2 separate regions of the Homo sapiens genome follow, and region 1 is linked to region 2. The links are contacts of gene promoters, found by promoter capture Hi-C in human tissues and cell types (Jung and others, 2019). All regions are on one chromosome and are shown on one strand. Each heading gives the region's core, a stretch centred on a gene start or on the middle of the fragment in contact. The rest is flanking DNA. Distances are from core to core; before and after follow the strand shown.

Region 1 (7,324 bases), core at 2,646-5,145, 55 kb after region 2:
TCTTCCTGGCAAGCCCGTGGGGAGGGGAGGAACTTGGCCTGCGTTCCCACAGACTGGCACAGGGAGCAAATCTGCCCAGCAAAGGTTGGGTGGCCTGCAGACCCAAGCCCACTCTGCTGGACACCTGGGCTCAGGTGCTAGACCGGGGGCTGCTCTTGCGGGCAGAGGAGGCCTCTGAGCTGCTGCCGGGAGAAGGAGGCTGGGCTCCAGGGTCGGGGGTTCAGGGCTGTGGGTTTGGGGATCTGGGGGTCCTGGGTCTGAGGATCTGAGGTGGGAGGACCTGGGAATCTGTGAGTTTGGGGATTGAAGCTTCAGCTCAGAGCCCAGTGCTGCTTTGGAGTGTCCCCTGAAGGAACCTGGAGTAGAGCACCAGCATTTTCTTCCAGAAGCTTCTTTTGGGCCACTATTGTCTCAGACTGGTACCCGGCCAGGACATGCATGGGAAGGTGGCCTCTGGTGGCCTGTGGCCAGCTGTGCTTGGTGACTTCCAGGCCAGAGCCTAGGTAGACTGGCCCAAACCCTCAGAGGGTCCCCCCAGGGCAGATGGGCTTCCCGGTGTAGGCTGTATCTGTGGAGCCCAGGGAAGGGGGCGTGCGGGAGGGCAAGGGGGCTGCTGAGGGTGGGATGTGGGTGGAGGAGGCAGGATGGAAGGCAGGGGCAGGGCTGAGACCTGGCAGTAATGGGGCCACACTCAGAAGGACCCACACTGTTATGCCCAGTCGTCGCCACCTTGAAGTTCATAACGACTCTTGGATAAGGTGCCCAGGGTTTCTGTTACGCTGTGGGCCCCACCCAAAATTATGTGGCTGGTTCTGAAGAGGGGACTCTGGGAGCGGGAAAGGCAGGCACAGAGGCTGAGGTGGGAGTGCTGGGGAGGCCGGGGGTCCACGCTAGCTGTCTCCATTCCTGATTCCTGCCCTGGGGGCAGAGGGTGGGGCTGGTCGGGCCTGCAGCTCACTGTCCTGAACCCCAGTTGCCTCCATCCCGTGCCTCCTCCCTGCTCCCCGCCATGAGCCAGGCTGCAGAGGTGGGCTGTACTCCCAGACTCAGCATCAAAAACTGCCCTGTGACCTAGGAAAGCCCCTTGGCCTCGCACTGGTGAAATGACACTGACCTTTGATTTTTGCACTTTAAAGGGTGGAGGTTGGAAAGGTCTGGCGAGAGCCACAGCCTGGCCTTGCAGGAGCCAGCTCCGACCTGTGACCTCAGCCCCCTGGGCCTCAGTTTCCCCATTATGGAAATGGGAACTTGGAGGCTTAGGGCTCCCTGCACAGTGGAGGTGGGTGGGTCCCTGAATGGGGAGAGCAGAGGCTTTGGGGCAAGAAGTTTTGGTGGGTGAGAGGCAGAGGTGGGGAATGCAGGCAGGGGCCTCCCCTTGCACCTGCATTCAGGGGAACAGAGGACGTGTGGGCCAAGACCCTAGGAGGTCTGAGGACTGGTCCCAGGTTGGGGTGGGCATGGTGGCTCGGCCACCGTGGGGAGGCAGAGGGCTGCTCGTAAATCCACGCTGCTGTCAGCTGAACGGCAATTGCGGATTGAGGCGGCCATCGGGGCTGACCTCCTGGGTCTGACGGGTCCATCACAGAGCAGCACCGCAGGGAGAGGCGGCTCTGCCTGGGAACCCACCTGCACGGACCACACGGCCCAGGGCCTGCCAGTTCCTGCCTCCCGTTCCTGGGTGGGGCTCACCTAGTGTCACAGAGACACGGAGTGTCGGGCAGTGACTGGCCTCAGTGCCCAGACCAGCTGGGCTATCTGAGTGCAAATTCTGCCTGCTGTGTGACCCCAGGTGTGCTACTGAACCTCTCTGTGCTCCTCTGAAACTGGAGATCCGTATTCACCCCTACCTCACTGGGGCTCAGTTAGATGATTTGACCCGGAGTATGCAGCTTAGTGGTGCCTGGCACATAAGGAACGCCAATGGATTTGGCTCCAATGGGGATGGCACGGACAGGGGTAGGATGATGTGTGCACAGTGCAGCCTCCCGTCGGGTCCACGGCCAGGCTCTGCTCCCACCAGCTGTGTGGACTCAACATGGAGCCTGGGAAATAGAAAAAGGCCTGTGAAGTGCCCGGAGCCAGCGGCACAGGGTGGGGGCACCAGGAGCTGCTGCCTGGTCCTCTCTAGGGCAGTGACTATTTGCTGCCATTGCCACGGGGATTTATCGGGGCCCCTCCATGTCCAGGCGTGGGCAGGTATCCGTGTCACCCCGTGTTACAGACCAGGAAGGCCAGGTCCAGGGCAGGCCGGCCTGTGCAAGGCTGACGGGAGGAAGGAGAGCCAGGCCTCTCCCTGCCTCGCCTCGCAGCAGAGCCCTGGGTCTGGGCAGGAGGACGGGCGGCCACAAGGAGGGCCAGACCCACCCTGGGGCCACACTGGGTTGCGTCTGCCCCTGGGGTGAGCCTGGTGGAGCCGGAGGGGCACTGCAGAGGGGCAGAGGGGTCTCCTCGCACTCGGCATGGACTCTGCCCCTGCTCCTGAGACTGGTTGGCCTTGAGGGCTCCTCCGGGAGCCTGGTGCCCTCACTCTTCAGAACAGCTCAGCACCCACAGCCTGGCCAGCTGGAGCAGCTGGGTGGTGGTTCAGATGGGATGGTGGGGTCAGTGGGACAGGCTCTGGCTTCTGGGGGCAAGGAATGAGCTGGAGGCAGGGGAAAAGGAAGGGGCTGGGCGTTGGGCGGGCTGGCACATGGGATGTGCCTGCTGAGGCCTGTGGGCAGGTCTTGGTCTGGGGACAGCCCTGCCCCTGTGTGTACCTGGCTCCCTGCTCCAGGCAGCTCCCCAATCTCAGGCTCAGCTACCCGGGGCCCTCTGCCCTCGTCTTTCTGCCCAGCTCTTGGGGGCTGTCCTGCTTCTGTCTCCCAAGGGCCTCACCCAGAGCTGAGGCAGGGGTGGGGATGCCCCCTGCCTGTGGCTGGTTGGCCTGCTCTCTCTCCTGCTCCCTTTGCTGTGAGTTGGGTGAGGAGGGGGCTCCGCCGCACTTGAGAGCTTCTAGCAGCAGCGCACCAGGCACAGGCATCGTGGCGTCGGGTGGCAATACATGGGGTGTGAACATAGAGCCGGGGCAGGTTGAGCAGACTCGCAAATGAGCTCCCAGCCCCCAGGGAGGCCTTGTGGGAGACCCCAGCCCACTCCCAGGGACCTACCCCAGTGCACCCCTGGGGAAATCAAGGCTGGGGTGGTCTCCTCTCGCAAGGCTGCTCAGCCCTCTCCTCCCCAACCACCGAGGCCTCTGCTGGGCGAGATCTCACAGCCTTCAAAGGCAGAGCCCTGGTGCCCTTCTCTTGGCATCTGTGCCCACTTCTCGGCCCCCACCCCGGCCACTCCCCCCCACCCTGTGGATGTGTCTTTCATCTGTCCCTTTGTGGCCCTCAGCCCTGTCCTCCTCCCTGCACTCTCCCTGGGCCACCTGCCCCTGCCCTGGGGCTTCACGTCCCCCTGGGCCACCTTGGCCCCCAGACCCCATCCCTGTGCCCCACATCTGCAGTTCCATCGTTTCTCTGGTATCTGCCCCATGTCCCTCCGGCCCCCAGATCTCTCAGACTTGTTCTCCCCTGTGCACCCCTCCTGGGGGCCCTGTTTCATCCTCTTCCGGAACCGGGGCATCAACTTGGGTTCCCTCCTCACCCTCAGTGCCTCCACCCAGCCCCAGTGCCATGGCAGGGTCGGGACCCTCAAGCTCTCAGGGCTGGTCCAGGAAGAGCCTCTGTCCAGGTGACCTGGGCACAGGGGGAGCATGGCAGTGGCGGGGGCAGGTGGGAAGGGATTGGCTTAAAATGCAGCATTCACTTAAAAACACAAAGAACATTTGTTCACCATGAAGTCAGGTCCTGCTCTGGTTGGTCTGTTTTTGGTTTTTACCTGGTTTTTTGGTAATTACCTGGTTTGCTTTGAGCTGCTTCCAGGCATCAGCCAGCCCCATATCCTGGTGGGGTTTCCTGGGGCCCCATTTATGCTCCCTTGGAAGTACCAGAGGGTCTTCTTTTCTCTTAAAGAAACAAATATTTGCACAGTTCAGCGCTGGGAAGGCCTCTGGCCGAGGTGGCCCGCGCACCCTGAGCCATGAGGGGTCAGGGCTGGGCAGAGGGGAGGGGGTGGATGAACGGCTTCTGCAGAGACAGTCTTGGCTCCACAATCTCCTCAGCTCAGGAGTGTGGATGTGCCATCCTGGAGCAGGTGCCTGTCTCTCCATGGTCCTGGCTGGGTGCCGTGGGTTCCGGACGGCAGGGCACCTGCCCATCCAGGGCTCCGGAGCAGCGAGGCTAGGCTGGGCCTTCAGCTCTGTCCTTGCTGGGCAGCGATTTCCTCTTCTGGACAATGGGGAGAGCTGTCCCTCGTCCTGGAGGGTGAAGTGGGTGGTGTGCGTGATGATCCCCGGTGCCCAGCACATGGTGGGCTCAGTGAAGCCAGACTTTTCTAGTTCTTCTTTAGTTCCCTAGACCTAAGCTCTCAGCTCGTGCTGTGTCAGGGCTGTGTTGAGGGAGGGAAGTCAGGTGTAGACTGAAGCTCTTAAGACTCTTAAGAGCTTCTACGGTCCAGGGTGTCACCTACGGTCCAGCAGGTGACTGATGGTCTAGCAGACGATTAGGCCAGTAGAGAGGCAGAGAAAGTGCGGGGGACTCAGAGGAAGGGAAGTGCTTCCATCTGGGCCAGGGGTGGTTAGGGAAGACTTCCCGGAAGAGGAGGTGCTTAGGGGAACCTGGAAGGGCAGAGAGAACCAGAGATGCAGGGGTGAGGGTCCTTCTGGCAGGTGTCTGTTTCAGGGGATGTCTGTGTTCGGTGAGGCCAGGGCTGAGCTCTACTGTTGGCTGAGCTGTGGGGGCGGCCAGGCAGGGCCCAGCATGCCAGGCTGAGGATGGGGCCAAGGGGGGCACGGCATGCTGGCCCCCCTGCTTGGTGTTCACTCTTGGGGACTGGACAGTGGTCCTTTCAACGAGCCCCCTCGCAGTCCCTGCCCTGGGGTCTCTCCATAGACCACTCTGCACACGCAGACCCTCCTGCTAGCGGACCGGGCCACAGCGAGGAGTGAAGACCCTGTGCAGAGTTCTCGTGCGGCCAAGGACAGCAGCCCACCTGAGACAGGTGCCCTGTAGTAGTGGCGGGAGTCAGAGACACCCCAGGGACAGCAGCAGGGGCTGCTTGCGGTTTGGAAGTCCCACCTGTGCCCAGACCACCAGCAGGGTCTCTCCTTCCCAAACCACCCCCTTTCCAATTCTGGGGGCGTCAGAGACTGCTGGGGGCATGGGGTGAGGCAGGGAAGGGTGGTGCGGGAGGCTGAGTGGGAGGGAGAGGGTGGGATGAGGCCCTGCATGCTGGACAGGACTCTGATGCATCACCCATCCCAGGGAATCTGAGTCTGAAACACAGAAAGGACCCACAGCCATTGGGTGTCCCCGGGCCTTAGCTTGCTGGGCCCAGGGCAGGCCGGGCTGCTTCTTGCCCGGGGAACTCAGCAGACCCCTGGATCGCTCCGGGGTGGGTGAGAGGCTGTGGAGGGAACCCTGTCCTGGCCGGCTGACCTCACAGCCCTCTCCTGCAGACGGGGCAGTCGAGGAGTAAAAGAATGAAAAGCAGTCAAACAGCCCCAGGAGACGCAGGTGAGGCTGGGCGACGAGCGGAAGCTGGAGATGGGGCCGCATGGTGGGCAGCAGCAGGGCAGGCTTGTGGGGTGAAGGAGGCTGGGGCATCCGGCATGGCAGAGGCAGCTTGAGTTTGGCGGAAGGGTGAGGCGTGGGGCCTGGGCCCACAGGAGGCCAGCGTGGTTTGGGGGCCTGGTTGGGTCTGAGATGCTTTGGGTGGTCCGGGGGACGTGTCCCATAGGCAGCTCCAGGTGGAAGCTTTGGGCTGAGGCAGAGGCTGCCTATGCACTCACCAGCTCGTTAATTCATCCTTCATTCTTGCCGGGAGCTGTTGGGGAGGCCATGCTGGGGGCCGGCTCCTGCTGGCTGACAGGAGCCAGTTGTTCCACAGATTTGTCATTCAATAGTGTAGAATCAGATCATGTCCTCGTTCTCGCCACGGCGCGGAAAGCTAACAAGAGTCAGCCCGGCTGCAATCTGCAGTGCTGGCGGTTCCCGTTGAATGAGTGAAATTGGTGTGAGGGTGAGATAGGCGGTCGTTGAACAGAGAGCACACATCAGACCTCACGACAATGAGCTTCTTGGGAAAAGAGACCTGGCTTCCTTTGTTGACTCGCGGGAGTGGCAGCTGCGGGGCTGGCTGGAAATGAGAGCAGAGCCAAGGAGCCTTCAGGGCTCAGACTTCACCAGGGAGAGTTGTGTATCTGTTTGTGTTATTTCTAAACTGTGTGTACAGGTCTTTCATGGCGGTAACATGTATAATCAACGTGCATTCGCATACACAAGCATCTGTTCTTTTCTCTGAGCCAGTTGTTAAAACATTTACCAGCACCGCTGTGGGGGCTGGGGAGAAGGTGCTTTGGAGGGGGGTGGGTGGGACACCTTAGGGTGGGGAGAGGGTGTGTAGGATGAGCCCAGGTAGAGAAAGAGAAGGCAAGGGCAGGGGAGGTGGTGTCTAAATTAGGGCAGAGCTTACCAAGGACAGGCCAAGGCAAGGAAGGGGGAAGGTGGCCGTGGTCATGGCTGGGCGGGAAGGAGGGTGCAGGAGGCGGGGCCGTGGTGCCGGGCTAGAAGGAGGCAGCCACGGGGTTCTGGTCTACTGACTTTCATTTCCTTTTCTTTCTTGAAGCGTGTTCCGGGCAGTCCATCCACCCCCCATTTCTGCCTTTGCTTGTCCCGTGCCCACAGGTGCCCCTGACAAGAACCTGGTGTGAGTGGGGTGTCTGCAGTTAGCTTGCAGCCAGGACGAAACATGAATGCACTTGTGGGTCTGCGAGCGAAGCTGGTGATGTTCTCTGCCAGGCAGCGGCTCCCTGGTCTCCTTCCAAGGTTGGGCAGACATCGCCTGCCTGGAGCTGGGCCAGAGGCTGAGAAAGGCAAGGGAGGGTCTCAGCCCCCAGCTCACTGCAGGAACTTGTTGCACCCATGGGGACTGAGAGGCAGGGCTGGGTCAAGGACCAGGGCCTGGTGGAGAGGTGGGGGCCTGGCTGCCCCAGCCCTGCTCAGACATGCTGTTAGGCCTTGGGAGAGCCCCTTCCCCTCTCTGGGCCTCACCATCCCCACTGGATGAAGTGGGGGCTGGGATGCTGGCCTTGAGGTTGATCCCAGTGGTGAGATGGGGTGGAATTGCTGTCCTCACGACTCCACCAACCCACCATTCCCTGTCCACTGTTTTATTATTCACTTGATAAATATCTATTCAGTGCCCACTTGATGACAGGAAGTAGTACAAGTATAGTCCTTGC
Region 2 (7,408 bases), core at 1,996-4,495:
GAGTAGAGGAGTGCAGGGGGCAGAGAGCACAGAAAGTCTAGCCCAGCCTTAGCACCCCAGCCAGGCCATAGGTGCGCGCTGGCGCCGCTGAAAACGTTCTCCTTCCCTCGCCTGTCCACCTTCCAGGTCCTGCTCAAGGCGCCTAATATCCCCTGGGCAGGGTCCCTGACACTTCCTTAACTCCCAAAGACCTTCCGCGTGGGCCTAGCGCATTTAGGCGAACCTCTCTGCCTGCTTGATCCTCTCCCTTCCTCCCTCAAGCCAGGCATCTCACCCACTTGCGCGCGAGGCTGGGGCAGCCCACAGGAGGAGCGCGGGACCCGGGCTTGAGTTTGCACCCAGGCAGAGCGCCCACCCCCGCCCCTAGCTTCGGACCCTGAAAGTAAAGTCGTCGTGCCCGGCAGCCAGCCCGAATCTTCCAGCCCTCAGGGAGTCGGGGTCGGGGCAGGGAAGGCCACGGGTGGCGGCACAATCGGGATCCTGGAGTGGAGGCGCAGACTGCGGGTCCCGCTGCGCACGCTCCGTGGTCCGGTTGGGGTGGGCCTTGGAGGTCCATAGGCCAAGGTTGAACGGGGGCTCTGGAGCGTGGGCGGGGTGGAGTGCACAGGTCACTGGGCTCTGAGCGTTTCCATGGGCCAGGACCCCAACGCGCCGTGTCCTCAGGACAGATTGGAGGGGGAAGGGGCTGCGATTATGCCCCAGTCGGAAGGGTTTTACAGCAGCCGCGCTGCCCTCTCCCTGCCGGATACCCGGCAGTAGACACCGACGTCTGGGGGCTAGCGAGGCAGGTGGGCGCGGACCGCGACCCGATTCTGGCTTCCAACCTCCGCCCAGTGGCGCGCGGGGCCGTCGCCCCACACCTCCAGTCCGCGTGGCTGGTGTCTGGCTCGCCGCCGGGGCGGAAGGGGCGCTGTCGGCGCAGGCGGGCGGGGCCGGAGCGCGGGGGCGCGCGGCGCGGAGCGAGCGCAGGGCTCGGGGGCGCGGGGCGCGGAGGACCGGGGGCTTGACGGGCGGCCCTGCGCGGTGCGGGGCGCGGCGGCGGCGGGCGCGCGGCCAGTGAACGCGCGGGCGGGGCGGCGGTGGCGGGAGGCACTAGGGGCCGCTCCCCGCGCTTCCCTCTTCCATGGCGCTGCCCCAGCCGCCCGAGCCGCCCCGCGGCGCGCCCCGCAAGGCTCCCAGCCTGCTGGAGATGGGGGCGCTCTGCCTGGACTCGGAGATCATCCTGGGCTTCACCAGCCACCTCCTGCGGCGACGAGGCAAGGTGAGGGCTGTCGGGAGGGGGGCGGGCGGCGTAGGCGCCGTCCCGTTACTTTGCCGCGCGGCTCGCGCGGCCGGGGGTGCTGCGCCGGGAAGGAGACGGCAGGTCCGGAGCCGCGTCCCGCAGCCCGGGCTGGGACTCGCTGCCGCACTTTCCCCCATTAGCGTTGTCCAAGTCTCCCTCTGCCTTCAAGGCTGTGTCCCAACCGGACCCACCCGGAGGCTGTGGCTAGGGCGGAGAGCGCAGCGCAGGGATTCTCGGGCTCACCTTGCGCCTTGCTAGGATGGGCGAAGTAGGGGGTCGGGGCCCCTGACTGATCGTGAGCCCCCGAGGTGACTCCAGCCTTGTGCACCCCGTGTTCTGCGGATATGGGATGTGAGCTTGTGCTTCCCGAAGCGCCGCGGCGGTAGAAGCGCTGAAGTTGCGGGTGTGGCTGGCCAGGGGCGCAGGACCGGTGCTCCCGACCGCTGCGTGCTTCTGTGTTGCGTGTGTGGGTGGGGGGACGGGATATAGAGAGTGTGTGTCCCGGAGCAGTGGAGCGGCGGGAGGCGGTGCTGTCTGCCGGCAGTGCGGGGTGGGGTTTGGGTGTTGTCCTCAGTACCCAGATCCAGATGTGGGCTGACGCCCGTTTTCATTCTCCAGGCTGCGAAGAGACGGGTAGGGGAAGCGCTTCCGGCCCCCCAGGCTGGGTGGAAAGCGACTGCAGGCTTACGGATCTCAGAAAGAGTGGAGAGCCCCTGCCACTTTATTCCATACCCCCTTGCGTTTTCGAACCCCTAAGGTCATCAACGACCCGGAAAGCCGGGAGGGGATCACCCACCCCACTTTCTGGGGAGTGCGTGCGTGGGCGGGGAGGCTTATCCAAGTAAAAGGGGGTGGGCAAAACGGAAAGGGTCACTTTGACGTACTGAGTCTCTGCGAAGGCCTCACCGTATGTGCCGGCAGCCGCGTGTCCTGGTCTCCGCCGGGTCACGACCTTCGGAGTTTCCGAGTGCGCCTCAGGCCTGGGACGCGCGGCGCTGTCTCCCCAGTCTCGGAGCCGTGTGCGCAGCGGCCGGCAGGGGGCACTCGCGTCACGGGGAGCCCGCCCGCCGCGCCCGCCTGGCTTGACCCGGGCTTTGGGGCTGACCCGGAGCCTGGCCCGGAGCTGCCTGCGGCCGCGGATGCCGGCGACATTTGGGGCCCGGCTAGGCACAGAGCAACTGGTCGCCAGGGAAGGGCGGGGGGGCGGCCTCCCAGCCGGAGACAAACAAGCAATTAATTCCGGAGCTGAGTTCCCATCTGCCAGGCCTGCTGACAACAGGTCCGGCGCACGCCCGCAGGACCTCCCGCTTCCCGGGCGGCACGGCGCGCACACCCACTTGCGGGCACACGCGCGGCTGTAAAGACACGTGCCGTTCGCAGACGCGCCGAGGCACAGATACGCCGGCGCGGTCGCTGCCCGGCTCGAGGCGCACACCGCGGCGACACTAACCCACGCGCGACAGTTAGACCTAAAGTGGCCCGCGACACGCAGAGTACGCTGGGCTTGCTGGAAAGGCGCCTGGGAGTCTCGGGGCCGGGGTCCCGCCCCTTCCTCGGCCCACCTCGCCGTGGGCCTTGGGCAAGAGCGTCCCCTCCGCAGCCTCAGTTTTCCCGCCTGTAGAGGGAGGGGCGTCGGCGCCTCCTGGGAGACGCGCAGCCCTGGTGTCCCGGGAGAGGGGCGGGAGGCGCATGCGCGCGCGCAACTAGATCCTCGCCGCCGCCCCCAGCGCCCCTCCCCGGGGCAGGGACTCACCTAACAGGTTGGGGTCCTTGGAGTGCGCGGGGCCGCGTGGGGAAGCGGGGACCCTACCCCCCCCACGCGCCGCCCAGCACTGGGCAAGGGCGGGGCACTCTCTGGGCTCCCGCCCCTCGCCGCCCGCCCCGGGAGCCCGAGCCCCGCCCTTCCCCGGCCCCGCCCTCGCCTCCCGAGCGCGCCCACCGGAGCCACCGCGCTCCTCGCGACACTCGCAGGCTCTGCGAACTTCCGAGCGGCTGGGCCGGGCCATGGGGGCGCCTCGGGGCCGGATCACGTAGCCGCGGCGCCCCCGGAGAGCCAGCGTGGCCGGGAGCGCCTGCCGGGCTCTTCCCGCGCCCCGGCCATGGTCGGCCGCGGCGTCCCTCTGTGCGCTGCGCAGCCCGCGGTACGCGCGGCCCGGCCTGGAGAGGGAGGCGGGCGGCGGGGGCCCGGGACGGCGAAGATACTCGCGGTGTGCGCTGGATCCCTGGGGGCCGGGCCTCCTGCTGAGGGTAGCGGACCCGCAGGCGGGACCTCCGGGGATGGAGGGAGTGGGTGAGCGCCAGGGTCGTGCCCAGGGCTCCTAACTTTGGCAAGAGCGTCACGCTGGGGCAGGGCGCGCAGGGGTCTGGATCCGACGGACGTCCCAGGCTCACTGTCCGCTTCCGCCCCCACACCCTGCAGGTGGCCGAGGGCGGCCCGGCCCGCGAGCCGCCGCCGCTGCTGGAGGTGTCCCCCCGAAAGAGGCTACCCGCCGGGCCCGACCAGGACCCATGCGGCAGCCGCCCTGCTCCCGAAGGCGCCGGGGCCGGCCCAGAGCAGGGCCACTCGGCCGGCGGAGGCGGCTGGTGCCGCCACTGCCACACGAAGCTGGTGGAGCTCAAGCGACAGGCGTGGAAGCTGGTCAGCGGGCCCGGGACCACCCTCCGGGTAAGTGACACTTCCTTAGGCCGACCCCTCCGAGCAGGGCCACGCCGAACTTGGGTAGAACTTGGGGCTTGGAGGGAAGCAGGGTTCCACTCCTTCCCTGCTGCTGTTTCCACAAAGAGTTATCAGCCAGGACTTCCCTTCTGCGGGCCTCAGTTTCCCGGTCTGTAACACCATGTGTGAGCTAGGGAGCTCAGCCCGAGGGGCCCTGCTGCCTCGGATGGGAGGGGCCTGGGCTGGCGTTCCTCCCCCAGCCCAGATGTCCCACAGCTGGAACGCAGGTTTGTGTGGGAGGAGGAGGGGAGAGAGCGGATGGCAGGGACTCCACCCAGGGCGGGACAGCTCCAGCCCTACCAGCAGGGAGAGGTTATTTGGTGCATTGTGGCCCTTGGGGCACCTGGGCCCCCAGCCAGGTGTCTGGAAATTACATACCTGGGGCCGGGGGGCCTGGCAGGTGAAAGGGTGGGCCACAGCAGCTGGGGGGTCCCTGCCTACTCCTCTCCCAGCCTCAAGGATAAGAACTGTTGTCCCATACCTCCTGGGATAGACTGAGGCAGTGGCCGCCCATGGGGAATTGAGTCGGGGCCCTCTGGGTTCCCCAGGCTCCAGCCCCAGGGGCAGGTGCTTGCAGGGGAGGGGTTCTCCTGGATTTCCAGCCAGTGGGCCTGCCGGCTTTGGAGGGAGCAGGGACCATTGTTCCAGGAACAATGCATGCTGGAAGTTTGCAAAGGCTGGGGGCGGGTGGGGGTCTCCAGAGGAAGCCCGCTGCCGGGCCTTCAGCCTTTATGAAAGAGTTCCTGGGAAGTCCGCATAATCCCCATTGAATCTAAATATAGTTCTCTAAGGGCTGTGGGGGTTGGAGTGAGCTGAGACCCTGACTGCCCTGTCTGGGGCAGGGCAGGGTGGGGCAGGGTACCAGTCTGGTTTCTGTCCTGGGCACCGTCTCCGGGCTCTCTGGAGTCTCGGCGAGGGATAGGATTGCTGTAGCCTCTCTCTGGCTCAGGCCAGGCGCCTGTGGGCCTGTCCTGGGGTGGGGCTGGACCCGCCCTGTCCTCTGCTCTGGACAGGCTGCAGCCTTGGCCATACTCTGTGCCCCAGTGGCCTGTATCTAGTTTAAAAGGTAGCAGGAGACCCTTGAGGGCCCCCTGGAGAGGGCCAGCCAGAGCTAAAGGCCCATCTTGCTGCCCCATTAGGGGAAACACGCCAGAGACAGGAGGGGCATTAAGATTGAGCTGGTCTCCTCATTCTTGGAGTGGGCTTGGACTGCTGATGCTGCCTGGCCCTGGGGCCATGGTCCTGGCATGGACTCGTGGAGGGGAGGGGGCTCCTGGTCACGGGCAGGCCAGGGGTCCTAGTGGAGAGGGCTGCAGGTGATACTAGTCCCTGGTGGATTCTAGGTTCCTCATCTAGGGGGGTGTCTTGGTCTCTTCTGGCAGACAGGTCTTCAGGGGAGCCCCAGACCACCCATCTCCAGCCTCCCCTGAGCTTGGCCTTTGACACTGGAAACTCCTCTTGAGTGCCAGCTGGGGGCTCCCCCTTCCCTAGCTGGCGCTGGCACTCAGCACACCGGGGTCCCGGGCTGGTCTCAGCCAGGGCTTTGTTCTGCTCTGGGCCCCCTTCTTCTGCTTTGTGGTCTCCTCTGTCACCTGGGGCCTGTTGTGAAGTGCTGTCCCACCTGCAGGGTGCTGTGCCCCCGGGAGAGAAGACCCCATCCTCCACTGTCTCTCCACAGGGCATGGGGGGCTGCACCTGCCATCCTGGGGCCTTACGGGTGTCATTGTCCTGTCCCCTGTGCGGGCCTGGGCTGTCCCCAGAGTCCCAGCAAAATTGCAGCCTGCAGCCCTGGCCTGGCCCGCTGGGCCCAGATGTGTGGACATGGCTGCTTCTGTGTTTGGGTTGGGAGGGAAATCTCTGGGGTGGCCAGGGAGACCCCAGTGTGCTCCCCGGAGTCTGGTGCACTGTCCAGTGGGCCCTGGCCTCTGCTCTGTAAGGCCAACGTGGCAAGGGGTATTTAGGGTTGGTGTTCTAGGATTTCCCCAGGGGCCCGTTTCGTATTTTTTAGGGGAGAGATGAGCTTCCTTGAGGATAGCTGTTTACAGGGAACTTCACAATCATCCATCTGTCTCATGCTTGGATCTTCAGAAGCCCAGAGAAGTGGAGAGACTTGCTGGGACCCGGCCTGGCTATTAGAGGCCCTCGCCTCCGGGCTTCCTGCCTGTCTCCGTTGTAGAGGGAGGCGTAGAGGGTCGGGGCCCAGCCTGCCAGGGTCTCCCTGCCTGTCTCCGTTGTAGAGGGAGGCGTAGAGGGTCGGGGCCCAGCCTGCCAGGGTCTCCCTGCCTGTCTCCGTTGTAGAGGGAGGCGTAGAGGGTCGGGGCCCAGCCTGCCGGGGTCTCCCTGCCTGTCTCCGTTGTAGAGGGAGGCGTAGAGGGTCGGGCCCAGCCTGCCAGGGTCTCCTTGAATGTGTTGCTCTTTAGCAACACCCGATGCCTGCATGGTCCTGCCTATGCTCATCCCCTGCTGGGCCCTTGCCCACCCTCCTGCCAGGAGGCAGCTCCCCTGAGCAGGTTCCCGAGAGTTCTTGGCCACTGTTTCCTGCTCTGCGACATGGGACCGTCTTTGTGCCCATTGCATAGGTACGTAGAGCAGTGCCCGGAAGGGATGCACTCTCACCTTGGCAGCTGCTGCTGCTGTTTGCTGAGTTAGGGACTCCGAGTCCCTGGGGCTGTTGGAGCCCAGGTTCCCGGCCTACCTCTCCCTTGCTGTGTGCTCTTGTCTGCCTGAGCCTGTCTCAGTTCCCTTGTCTGGGCAGTGAGGGTGACCATGGTCCCCTATCTGGGGACCTCATCCCTGTGGCATGGATAAGACTGTGCCCTCCCCACCTTTCTGAGCTCTGGTGCCCCGTCTGGGGCCGTAGGGGAGGGGGACATTGTCTTCCTGCCCCTGTTGGAGCCCCAGGGGATTGTCTTTCCTGATCTGAGAAGGGTGCTTGGCCCTGGGTGTGGAGGGGAAGCCCCATGATGGGACTCTGGCCGTGGCTCCTGCTCCTCACTGTGTCCCCACACTGTGCCCTCTGCTCTCACCAGGGTCCTCAGGCCTTGTCTCCGGGCTGACTACTTCAGGACCCCCATGGCCTGGAGCGGCCCCCTGTGGCCTGGCCTCCTGTGGCCTCCAGGGACCTTTCTCTAATGGGCTGCTCTGTCTGCCCTGCCATAGATGCTGTCCTCATCCCAAGACCCCCTGGCCTCCCTGGGCTGGAGGCCCCTCAGTGTCCCTGCTCTGGCCTCAGGGGCCCCTTCTCAGGTGCCCCCAACTCTGAGATGTCCCTGTGGGAGGTTGCAGCCTGGTGCCTCCCATTCAGCAGGCAAAGCTGGGGCCTCCCTCTTTCTCCACATCTAAGGCCCCCCTCGCTTCCCCATGCTCACCCACCACCGCAAACTGTTGTGGCAGACCTCTTCCCTCTCCCT

Evidence for each region. The method cuts DNA at HindIII sites, captures the fragments that hold promoters and counts their contacts. A contact is called where the count stands out against the background at its distance.
Region 1: a contact is called between a fragment that was not itself captured here and the fragment with the promoter of KIF26A in region 2, in 1 of the 25 tissues and cell types used here (dorsolateral prefrontal cortex).

Annotation. Positions count from the first base shown.
Region 1 is chr14:104,190,019-104,197,342 of GRCh38, forward strand. No RefSeq gene overlaps it. Among named protein-coding and RNA genes, the nearest start is that of LINC02691, 30 kb to the right of the region's middle. The HindIII fragment of the contact is 7,092 bases long and covers 350-7,324 here.
Region 2 is chr14:104,135,342-104,142,749 of GRCh38, forward strand. KIF26A (kinesin family member 26A) reads left to right here and starts at 3,246. Exons shown (of 15, transcript NM_015656.2): 1 at 3,246-3,423; 2 at 3,702-3,947. The coding sequence starts at 3,382. It overlaps KIF26A-DT (KIF26A divergent transcript), which reads right to left and starts at 3,288. Exons shown (of 3, transcript NR_158217.1): 1 at 2,189-3,288; 2 at 1,526-1,901. RefSeq lists enhancers at 265-838, 1,125-1,836, 1,837-2,548 and a silencer at 2,245-2,414. The HindIII fragment of the contact is 16,750 bases long and covers 1-7,408 here.